Regions from separate parts of the Homo sapiens genome. Here region 2 is linked to region 1. The links are contacts of gene promoters, found by promoter capture Hi-C in blood cells and fetal thymus (Javierre and others, 2016). All regions are on one chromosome and are shown on one strand. The core of a region is centred on a gene start or on the middle of the fragment in contact, and the rest is flanking DNA. Distances in the headings are between cores, read along the strand shown. Region 1 holds the start of SLC25A47 (solute carrier family 25 member 47). Region 2 overlaps YY1 (YY1 transcription factor).

Region 1 (5,876 bases), core at 703-3,202:
GCCGAAGCCCACACCGGGGTTCGTGAAGAGCCAGGACTGCCTGGAACCACAAGCGTGTGTGGAAGAGAGAGGGCCGGGAGTCCACACCTTGCAGAGAGGCCTCGGGTGCCAGGCCTCAACATCCAAGCCCCAGCACTGCCACAGGGAAGTCAGAGGGGAAACAGGGTGGTCCCTGGGAGGACCATTCTCTCCCCTGAGGGGAGGTGGTAAAGGCCAATGGAAGAAAATAGGCACATGGGGACTGTACCCTATTCACTGTAGCCCAGGACTCAGTAAATATGTGGGATGAAAGAATGAAGTGAATAAATGTAAGGCAAAAGACCAAGTGGCTTGGAGAGAACGACCCTTCTTAACCCTCCCATACACCTCACACACCTCACCAGGCTCCTACTCATCCATCAAAGCCCTGCCACGACACTACCTCCTCTCTGGAGCCCTCTCTGGCCTCTGTACTCTGGGCTGCCTCTGTGCCTGGAACATGTTGAGCAGAGCCCTTGTCATATGGCCTTGCTGTTGTATGCCACCGCCACCTCCAGAACTGGAGTTCTCCAAGGACACGGCCGAGGGCTGACACCCCATGACCCAGGGCCAGGCACAGAGTGAGAGCCCTTTACCTAGGCCTCCTCATGGCTCCGGAGGAAAGATGCCAGACTCAGGAGCCCTTTCCAGCTGTGTGATGTCAGGCAAGTCCAGTAGCTTCCCTGAGGAAGGGAGCGGCTGGCCCCAGGCTGGCACCTAGCTGGGGCTGAGAAAGGCTGCTAATGGAGGCCGGGCGCAGTGGCTCACGCCTGTAATCCCAGCACTTTGGGAGGCTGAGGCGTGCGGATCGCTTGAGGTCAGGAGTTTGAGACCAGCCTGACCAACATGGTAAAACCCTGCCTCTACTAAAAACCCAAAAATTAGCCAGACATTGTGGTGCATGTCTGTAATCCCAGCTACTTGGGCGGCTGAGGCAGGAGAATCACTTGAACCCAGGAGGCAGAGGTTGCAGTGAGCCAAGATCACGCCAGTGCATTTCAGCCTAGGCGACAGAACAAGACTCCATCTCAAGGGAAAAAAAAAAGAAAAAGCCTGTTAATGGGGCAGGTACTCTGCCTTCTCCCAGGGCCAGAGCTGGGCCGCTCTCCCAACCCCCATGCTGTTTCCAGAAGTACTGACGCCACCCACCGATGTTTCACAAGACCAGCAAGGGCAGGAGTGCCCACTCAGAACAGCCCCCACAGCCCACGGGATGGAGCTGAGCCCGTGTCCCAGGGCCTGGTTATCTCCCTGAATCAGTCTTTCACCAGGAGCCCTTCCCCAGGAGGGAGAACGGTTTCTCCAGCAGAGTCTGGCCTGAGAAGCAGGCTCTGGAGGCCTAGCCAGGTGCACACACCCAGCAGGGCAGGTGGAGCCACCTCGCCAGGCCCCTTACCGTCCTCTGCCCGCCCCTTCCAGTCCCTGCTGCAGGACCAGGCCCATCTTCCCTACCCATCTCCCCACCCTCTCGATCCTCTCCTGGGGTCTTCTTTCCCTTCCAGTGACTCAATCACCCCTCCCCACACCAAGGACTCCCAGCCTCCCTGACTCTGCCTCCCGAGCGGCCCCCATGCCTAGACCACAGCCCCATCCCCAGCCTGCCCTCAGCCTCCTGTCTGAGCCTCCCAGGCCAGTGCAGCCCCCCAGGCCCTGCAGCACCCCTCACCCAGCCTTAGCCTCCCAGGAACCTGCTCTCTGCTCCTGGCAGATCCTGGGGGGTGAGGGGCTCCTCAAAGCCCACCCTGCTGCCCAGCACCTTCCTGGACCTCAGTTCCTCCTGCTACCCCCAGGAGCAGCAGTGTCTGCACAGCCCACCATCCTGTCTGTTACCTCCGATGGCTCCAGCGACAAAATCCATGAACAAGGTGTGGCGGGGAGGCCCTGGGTCTGCCTGCCTGAGAGGGCTTTGGTGCCACCAGGGTGGCCTCAACAGCTCCCAGCTGGCCCCTCTCAGACCTTAAATACCTGCGGCAGGGGAGGGGACCGGAAGCAGAGCCTGCTGAGGCCACGCGGCACACAGCTGGACTCCCTCCCTGCCCCCGGGACCCTTGTCCCAGTGCCCTCGGGACCCAGGTGTCAGGAAAACACAGGAGAGAGCACGGGAGGTGACAGGCACCAGAGAGCAGGGGCACTGCCCCATCACATCCAAACACCTCCTGGGAAGGTCCAGAGATGGGGCTGTGACAGCTCTCGCCCTCCAGGTCCAAGCCCAGGCCTTCACTGTGTCCCCTGGGCTTTCCCGACTCCCCTGGATTTGCTCAGGACCCCTGCCTGGGAAACCTGCAAAGCTCCCTCTCTTACTCACTCAAAAAACACTTACTTTGCTGATGCTACACCCAGGCAAATGAGAGCCAGTCCCTGTCCTCAAGGAGCTCCAGTTGGCAGGGAGGGAGGGGGTGGCAAGGACAGGCCTGAACCCAGGAACAGCACCCACCATCTGCTCTCACCCTTCCCGCTGCCCCGGTTCCCTGCTCTCTGCTCCATGGGAATGTGTCTCCCTGGACCCAGAGGCGAAGGCCAAGGCTGCCTCCACCAAGTCCCCCTGCCCACATGAACCAGGGACAGAGGCTGCCGATTCAGCCTCTGAACCAGCGGCTGGGGCCCTCCTGAAGGGGAAACCTCTCCACTAAGACGCTACTTCTGTCTGCTGGGCACTGTAAAAACAGGGACCTCCTTGCCCGTGCACCCCACCTTACAGTTCACCAAGCTCCCCTCACTCTCAGGCTCTAGGATCCTCCTCACCGCCCCAGGAGGGAGACAGCGCAGCGTTAGTGCTCCCCATTTCACAGATGGGGCCATTGAGGCCCAGAAAGGGGGCTTGTCCAAGGCCACGAGGGCGGCAGGGCTGGATGTGATCCCCAGATGCTCTCATACAACCCACCCTCTGGGATATCCAGGCCCGCCTGGGGAGGCCCCAGAGGGCTCTCAAGGGGACTCAGTGCATGCCCCATGTGACCTGCACTGCATCCTTGTGAGATCTCCACGTGAGACACCAAGGCTCAGGGAGGCTGTGCAGGTACCTCGGCCACACAGCTGCTGAGCAACAGAATCTAAGTGAGTGCCCCACAGACTGGAATGCCAGCAGGATAGGGGAGGGGCAGGTGTTGATGCATGAGGCCCAGGCAGCCCATCTGGGCAGCCCTCGGGACAGGTGGCAAGGCCAGGAGGCTCTTTGTCTACCTGTTTTCCTGTCCTCTAATGGCTGGACCTGCAGGCTGGCCTTGAGCAGGCTGAGAGCTGATGGAGGGACAGCCCCCCTGCCAGCCCGGCTATTTATAGGCAAGTGGGAGACACAGGATGAGCAGTGCCAGCTGCCACGGCAGAGGGCAAAGGGCGGGAAGTGGCCCATCCAAGGCCAGTCCCAATGCTAGTCCTGGCCCTCAAGGGGATGAAGCTTAGCATCTGGTTAGAAGCTGGCTGCCTGCCTTTAAAGCCCAGCTCTGCCACTCACAGCTGAGACCGTGGGCCAGCCCCTTGACCACTCTGTGCCTCAGCTTCTGCATCCATGAAATGAAGAGAGTACCTGCCTCATATCTGCGACCACGCAGGGCAAAGTCCGGGCGTGTCCCTGTGAGAGTGGCCAGCTAAATGCTAATGCTGCATTAACAGAAGCATAGAGTCTGGAAGGAAGGAGGTGGCTGGCCTGTTCTGGGCAGGGCAAATACAGCTGAGACTTGGGTTTGATTGCTGATGCTGCACTCAAGAAGCCAGTACCTTGGGTGCTGAGGGAGTTTGAAGCACTGTGTCTAACTGAAAGAACAGGGACCATTCAGATCCATGTTTCCTGTAGAGCATCCAATGCAGCAAGTGCCACCCACCCATAGCACCTGAGCCAGAAGCCCAGGAATTGCCCTGGACACCTCTCTCTCTCCACCCCACATCCAGAGTCCCCAGTCCTGTGTGTCAACCTCTTAAATTCACGTTCAGCTCCCTTCACCACTGTCCATCTGCACGGCCTCAGCCGCGTCATCATCCCGTGGACCGCAGCCCGCCCCGCCCATGCCCTCTACTCATGAAACCAAGGCTGCCTGTCGAGTTTTAGGCACGGGGACACATCAGTAAACACAACGGATAAAAGCCCTTGCCCTGGGCTGGGCACGGTGGCTCACGCCCATAATCCTGGCACTTTGGGAGGCTGAGACGGGCAGATCACAAGGTCAGGAGTTCAAGACCAGCCTGGCCAACATGGTGAAACCCCGTCTCTACTAAAAATACAAAAATTAGCCAGGCGTGGTGGTGGACACCTGTAGTCTCAGCTACTTGGGAGGCTGAGGCAGGAGAATTGCTTGAACCCGGGAGGCTGAGGTTGCAGTGAGCCGAGATTGGGCCACTGCACTCCAGCCTGGGAGACAGAGTGAGACTCTGTGTCCCAAAAAAAAAAAGCCCTTGCCCTGGTGGACCATAATTATGTTCAGGGAGGAGGACAGCCAGCCAACAGATGAATAGCCAAAATACAGAGTACCCGCAATGGCGGCAAGTGCCAGGAGAGAAATAAGGTGTCGGGGAGAGGGAGACTTGCAGGAGGTGTTAGGGAGGCCCCAGAAGGTGACATTTGAGACAAGCATGTTCTCAGTCATCGCAGCCAAGTTTTACCTGCCCTTTGTCTCCTGAACAAACATGCCCTAACTTGACCCTCTTCTCTGAGGCAGAAATAGAAAACAGGCCACCCCACCATTTAGGCTGCTTCGTGCAGGTCTAAACATTTCCCCACTCAGCTGTGGGCTTCAGGCAGGCAGGGTGGTGCTGGGTTTGTCTCCACACCCATGGCACCCAGAATAGGTGGGCACCCTGGGGAGACCACGTAAATAAGTATGTGAGAAAATGAGTCAGTGAACAGATGGAAGGATGGATGGATGGACAGAGGGATGGAGGGACGGATGGAGGAGGGCTGGGCAGACAGATGGATGGATGGAAGACAAACGGAGGAGGGAGAGATGGGCAGGTGGACAAATGGATGGATGGGAGGAGGGCTGGACAGACGGATGGATGAGTGGGTGATAGATGGAGGGACGAGTGGATGGATGAAGGGGTAGAGCGATGAACGCATGGACAGAAAGACAGATGGAAGGATGGCAGGGGCCCCACAAGAAAGGGGTGAGACAGTGTTGCAGAATCTGAGACAGGCCGTCAGTCAGTCCACACCCTCAGCACCCACACTGTGCTGGGCCCTAATGATCAAAGGGACCTCAAAAGGATGTCACTCACCAGCCCCCATCACCCCATCCATCCTTTCCACCGAGCACCTTGTCCTCCCTGAAGGTGTGCACCTGGAGGCCCTGCCCTCCTGGGTGTCCTCAGCTGGAGATAGCCAATGGCATTAGATCACTTTATTTGCTTTTTTATTTTTAATTTTTATTGTTTTAGATGGAGTCTCGCTCTGTCGCTCAGGCTGGAGTACAGTGGTGCAATCTTGGCTCACTGCAACCTCCATCTCCTGGGTTCAAGCAATTCTCCTTGAACCAAGGAGGTGGATGTTGCAGTGAGTTGCCTCCTGAGTAGCTGGGATTACAGGCACGTGCCACCATGCCCGGCTAATTTTGTTGTATTTTTGGTAGAGATGGGGTTTCACCATGTTGGCTAGGCTGCTCTCAAACTCCTGACCTCAAGTGATCCCACCCATCTCAGCCTCCCAAAGTGCTGGAATTACAGGAATGAGCCACCGCACCCAGTGGCATTAGATGACTTTAAACAATCATTATTATTCTTGTTAGGTGCAATAATGGCACCAAAGTTCTGTGAGAAAATGCCTATATTTCTTAGAGATACAAACAGAAGTACAGGTTGGTGAAATGGCACGATGGCTGAAATTTACTTTAACATTGTCTGGCAAAAAAAGAAAGGAAGAAAAGGAGAAAGAT
Region 2 (6,187 bases), core at 1,401-3,900, 40 kb after region 1:
GTATGTGGCCCCTCCCTCCTCGGGCGTCGCCGCCGCACCGCCCTGCCCCGTGTCCCTGTGGCCCTGGCGGCGGGAGTCTCCTCCGCCCGAGGCCTCGGGCAGGTGGGGTGCACGCAGCCTCCTTCCGCGTTTCTCGGGCTCTGAATCTCCGCGCCCCCGTGGCCCTGGGCTCACTCCGCGCGGGGGACGCTCGTAAGCGGCGGCGGCTCGCGGGGACCCCACACTCAGGGATTCTGGACAGCCCCCACCGCGCCTCGGGTCCCCGCGAGGTCCGGGCCGCTCCGCGCTGCGCACGCGCAGCCCCTCCCCACAGCGGACGCGGCCCAGCCCCGGGGCCCGCTGGCACAGTGCCCTCCTGCGGCCGGCGGCGGCGGCGCACCCTGCGGGTGGGGGCCCAGGCGCAGGTCTAGAAGCCCCCGGGGCCGCCCGCCAGAGCAGCGTGGGGGACAGGCCCTGGAGCACTGCAGGGTGGCAGGGAAGGGCTGGGACAAAGGCGCGGCCCAAGTCCCCAGAAGGGTCTGGGGGCGGGCAGGGCTGCCCGCGCTAAGTGCTGGCCAAAGGCCAGGCGGGCAGGGGCTAGGGCTGGCCACCAGCTCCCGGGATATTCCTAGGGTCCGGTACAGACGCACGTGGCAGGCCAAGAAGAAGCCATGCAAACACCTGAGGGGCGTGCTCAGACCCCGTCCTGCCTCCTTGCCTCCTCTCCCTCCCTAGCTACCCCGCCCCCCCCCGCTTTTTTAGACGGAGTCTCGCTCTGTCGCCAGGCTAGAGTGCAGTGGCGCGATCTTGGCTCACAGCAACCTCCACCTCCCAGGTCCAAGCGATTCTCCTGCCTCAGCCTCCCGAGTAGGTGGGATTAGAGGCATGCGCCACCACGCCCGGCTAATTTTGTATTTTTAGTAGGGAGGAGGTTTCTCCATTTTGGTCAGGCTCGTCTCAAACTCCCGACCTCAGGTGATCTGCCCGCCTCGGCCTCCAGAAGTGCTGGGATTACAGGCATGAGCCACCGCGTCCGGCCCCTAGCCCCTATTTATCACAGCCTTATCCTCCTTCCTCCAGATGTCATGCCAGTGCCAGTAGGGCAATGCCATTCCTGCCTAAAACAGGGCCTGGCACATAATTGCATTGATCGAATCAGGGCCCCTGGAGGTGGAGAGGTAAGCTTTGGAAACGAAAACTCCAAGAGGGAGGGGAGGGACAGGACAAGAGGTGATCCATTAGGAAAGGCTGAAAAATGAGATAAAGCCAGGACTGGGCTCTGAGGGTCGGCGGGACTGGATTTTTCGGTAGGAAGTAGGGAACCGCTGCAGTTCAAATCACGTGCTGAGACCCTGTTAGCAGAAAGGCCGTGTGGGGAGGTCAGCAAGGACCGAGGGGAACGGTCACAATGGCGGGCAGTCGGGGAGCCCTGAGGACCCTTCCAAGGCCAGGAGGCACCACTGCGCCAGAACAGAAAGGGCCGCACACCAGGGAGGCCGATGCACTGCTCCATAAACAAGGGCCAGGGCTTTTTTGAAAGGGGACTGGAGGAGAATTCAAGCTAAGGAGCCAGTGGCAAGCAGAGTACCTTGGAAGCCAGGCAGGCTTGGGCTTTGAATTCTGGCTGCCTGGACTTTGCAAATAAATCTGAGCCTGTTCCTCTCTTACAGCATGGTGATATTGCTAGCTAATTCATCAAAGGGTGGTTTGGAGGAGGCCACTGGGTACATATGTGTTCTCAACAAATGTTATGGGCTGCGCATGGTGGCTCACGGTAATCGTAGCTACTCGGGAGGCCAAGGCAGGAGGACCACTGGAGTCCAGGAATTCAAGGCAGCAGTGAGCTATGGTCGTGCCACTGCACTCCGGCCTAGGTGATAGCAAGACCCTGTCTCTTACCAAAAAATAAATAAATAAATAAAATAAAAAATTATAGCCAGGCAGAGACACCGGCAAGTATAAAGGAGAGATACTGGTTTCATCTGTATCTAGGGGTTTCTAAAGAAAGCAATTCCAGGCCAGGCACGGTGGTTCACGCCTGAAATCCCAGCACTTTGGGAGGCCGAGGCGGGTGGATTGTGAGGTCAGAAGTTTAACACCAGCCTGGCCAACATAGTGAAACCCCCATCTCTACTAAAAATACAAAATTAGCCGGGCATGGTGGCACACACAACCTCCTGCTATTCAGGAAGCTGAGGCAGGAGAACCGCTTGAACCCGGGAGGCAGAGGTTGCAGTGAGCTGAGATTGCGCGCCACTGCACTCCAGCCTGGGAGACACAGCAATACTCCATCTAAAAAAAAAAAAAAAAAAAGCAATTCCAAAGCTTTAGTTCCTTCCCATGTAAAATCTACAGGTTTTCCACCGTCTTGCTCAGCTCAGCCCTACTTAGGGCCTTCACTCAGCAGTTCTGGGCTTGCACAGGCCTGCGACTTGCCACCTCAGTAGCATTCTGTCAGCAGCCCCTTCTGTCACTAGCAAAAAGGGAAAGTCACATGTATTCAAGTAATAATGAACTTCACGCCTCACTCTGAACCTTGCTCTGCAGAACATCAGACACCAAGGCCCCAACCAGAGGGAGGAAGCTCTGCTCTGCATTTTGCTTTTGGCTAAATCCTAAGTAGCTCTCAGTGTATTTGGTCAAGTTCTTCCGAGTCCATCCCAGTTAGCTCCGGAGCTTCCAGGGCTGACATGGGCTCATAGGTCCGGCTGCGTGGGCATTTCACTGGGCTGTGCTTTCTGAACAGTGGGTGAGGCTCTCTTTAAAACGCCCTCTTGCTCCTGAGCCCACCTTGGAGCTGAAAGGTTACAGAAGCATTTCTTGCTGGTGTGAGACCAAATCCTGGGAGTTCCCAGTCCTGTGTGTGAGAAAGCAAGCCGCAAGAACTGCCCCGGGCAGTTTAGGCAACTCTTAGACCAGGAAGGGCTCATGGCCTGGTTTCATGTGCAGTGAAACACTAAAGAAGTGGCTTAGAGGACTGAGGAACAAACAAGAACCACAGGCATTAAAAAGCTTAACATTATGCATTTATTATATTGTATAGAGCCATATTACACATGCTTGGTGCTTCAAACTGAGTTATCAATGTTTTTCTGGATGCAAAGCCATCTGATGCTGGATGCGGATGCCTTAAATACTATATTTCTGCATCTATGACCTATGAGCTAAGGAAAAACCAAGGACAATTCCAGAAATGGCAAAGAACACTTAAGAAAAAGATGTACATGAGACGAAATGCTAAGTCCTTGAGCCAGGGCCTACAGAAGTTACCAGAAAGCGAATAAAAACATAATTTTTCTCACCACCTGTTGATAATAGAGCCTCACATGTCCGGGTATGGACAATGTAGAAAAAAGAGGTTGTTCCGTTTGGTACTGATGCCTTTCTCCCCTCCGTGATGTGTGCGGACATTGTGCGGCCCCCAGAGAGAGCAGCAGACAGAACAGAGCACAGCAAACTGCCCCCTCCTCAACACATCCCAGTGCTGTTTTTTTTTTTTACAGCATCTGGGTGTCTCATGAAAAGCGGTCAATTTGATCAAACTTGCCACCTTGTGGAAAATCAATCAGTGTGCTTCAGATGAATGTGACGCCATCACACGCACCCTCCTCTGACATCCAGAATGCTGGCGGGGGACATGGGGCTGGGTGCCTGCTCGGCCAGGACGAAGCTCTCCATGTGTCACCTCCCACCTTACGGCACCCAGTTTGTGGGAGGTTTGCTTTGCCTGCTGACCTGATGCTAACGCTCAGCTTAAACGCTCCATTCCAGATTTTACAAGGGGACTGGGTGATAACGTGTCAAGTACATGCTGCCCATACTTCCCATCAAGCCTCAGTACAGTCCCAGCTTAAAGATCCTCTCTGGCACCACACTGATCCCTTGGGCCTGGGGGTGGATGCCAGGAAGCCTCTTGGCCACAAATCTGCCCTCTTGTGGGTCAGAGGCCAGCCCTCTCTTGCCTGACGTGACTTGTCTGAAGGGCCTGCACTTAAACCATCTTCAGGCAACCAGGGCATCTGAGCATAACCTGAGCAGTAACAACATAAATCAAGGGTCAGTAATTTGGGGTGGATGAGACCTAGCCAGCCATCCAGTCAGATGCTGCCGTGCAGGTAAGCATGATTCTGAAGGCGTGGGGTACCTTTTGTCCTGTAAAGTCAGAGAGAAGGCTAAGAAGTGCATGGCCAGAACCCCAAGAAAGTGCAGCTTGGAGTTTTGGCTTCCTTCCCCACCGCTTGGGTTAAAAGTTCGGGTGGAATGCACTTGCCAGGACCTGCTGGGCCTGAACTCTGAAGTGCTGCGCTCACATTACTGTCAGTGTATCCAGGACAAAGGGCCCGGAGCCAGACAGGTGCCCCCTACAGCCGAGGGTCCAAGGCAACCCTGTGACTCAGAGCTGGCTTCAGCAAGCCAGCAGAGCAGCTGGGAGGAAGCCTCATGGCATGGCTGTGGCATCAAGTGGGTGTCTGTGAGCAGCTTGGCTCTCACCACTGTTTTGACCTCTGGGATCCTTACTCTTGCTGGGGGTCAGATGTCAAGAAAATAGAAGGATTATTAAAGAATAATTAAATAATTAAAGATCAACAACATGAATTTCCCAAGCCAGGCTGATTTCCAGGTCACAGAAGTCAGAGACCCTGGAAGTGATCAACTCTCTTTGCCTATAGTCGGGGGTGGGGGGAGGTGGGTAGAATTGTCAGGTTTCCTTTTTTTTTTTTTTTTTTTTTTTTTTGGGAGACGGAGTCTTGCTCTGTCACCCAGGCTGGAGTGCAGTGGTGCGATCTCGGCTCACTGCAAGCTCCGCCTCCCGGGTTCACGCCGTTCTCCTGCCTCAGCCTCCCGAAATTATCAGGCTTCCAATTCCAAAACTTCTTTTTAGGGGGCCAGGTTTTCCTGTGCCACAAACTCTGGTCTGAGACCAGTCTGGGACACGTCTCCACAGTAAGTTTTGCAAGGCAGAGTGCAAACGGACGTGGGGCAGTCCTCCAATGTACGCACTCTCAAAACACTGCTCAGGCGGGCTTCCCCCGACTGGAAGTGACTCTCATCTACTTGTGAAGACATGAACTTGAACTCTGCTTGGAAACACGGACAGGTATTGCGCACACTATCCTGTGAAAGGGTCTTATTTAGCAAAATAAGTGACATTTAGAACTTTTACATGAAAACCAAATAGGAAAAAAAAAATCCCGATTTTCCTCAAATCCTCAGGCCTTGAATCTAGGCAAAGCACACAAACACCATATGAAACCAACAGCATGAGTTCAGGGTCATCTTGGAAAATAAATGTCACTCTGGGGTGACAGTTCTTTATACAAATAGTATGCTCCCCCTCTCAACTCCACTACCAAAAAGGGGGAAATAATAAGAAATTCAAAAATAGAAAACAACATCTTGTTAAGTGTAAACTTATCCTCTGGAGTTTTTATATTACATATGCTAGAAACATGCATTTATTTCTGCTCAGATGTACGAAAATATGTCTATCAGTATTACTTATAAATCAGATTAATCCTCAAGACAATGGACTCACTGTTAGAATACCATTTCAAACCTTAGTAAATTACATCGTTAGCAAAATTATAAATTCTAACCACAAGCAGAATGGGTTGAAGTTACACCCAATGAGAACTACCTCTACTCTTTATATTGTTGCTCATTTGTTAGTTTTCTATTGTTGCAAAGTCAGTGCTATGTTAACAAGGAACTTGTTTTCTTGGAACCCCAGATTAAACTCCTTACAGAAGTTAACTCTGCAGACTGAGAAGACGTGAACAGAGAGAGTCAAGGGGAGTGATGACTATTTCAGAGACAGGAAAGGACAGAAGAGATGACCAAAGGCACCCCCAAGGGATCAAGGCACAGAGGAAGAGGGACTTCATCCACACAGGAGCCTGGCTCCTGCAGGCCATGGCATGGCTCTCGGGGCTGCCAGCAGGGCTCCCCATAGCATAGGTGTGCTCTGCGGTGGGCCCTTGGGCAGGGTCCTGAGGACAGTGCCAGGGCCAGGCTCCAGTGCAGCACAATGTTGGGCAAAGGACTCCTAACACAGCCACGCTGGGGCTACTCAACCCGACAGTGGGGAGGGAAGGTGTGGGTGCTCACAAGGCAGGCATCCATAGAAGACGCTGCCCAGGTCCAAGTCAAAGAACTACACGTTCTCATCCGAGCCCTCGGCACTGAAGACCTCCACCATGGGCTGACC

Evidence for each region. Contacts are between HindIII fragments. The CHiCAGO score rates a contact against its expected background, and 5 or more counts as called.
Region 2: a contact is called between a fragment that was not itself captured here and the fragment with the promoter of SLC25A47 in region 1, in 1 of 17 cell types (monocytes). The highest score is 5.9, in monocytes.

What each region holds. Positions count from the first base shown.
Region 1 is chr14:100,319,415-100,325,290 of GRCh38, reverse strand. SLC25A47 (solute carrier family 25 member 47) reads right to left here and starts at 1,952. Exons shown (of 6, transcript NM_207117.4): 1 at 1,849-1,952. The coding sequence starts at 1,876. The HindIII fragment of the contact is 12,472 bases long and covers 1-3,414 here.
Region 2 is chr14:100,279,589-100,285,775 of GRCh38, reverse strand. YY1 (YY1 transcription factor) reads right to left here. Exons shown (of 5, transcript NM_003403.5): 5 at 2,988-6,187. It also overlaps a transcript of SLC25A29 not described here. Among named protein-coding and RNA genes, the nearest start is that of MIR6764, 5.3 kb to the right of the region's middle. RefSeq lists silencers at 1-457, 488-597. The HindIII fragment of the contact is 687 bases long and covers 2,307-2,993 here.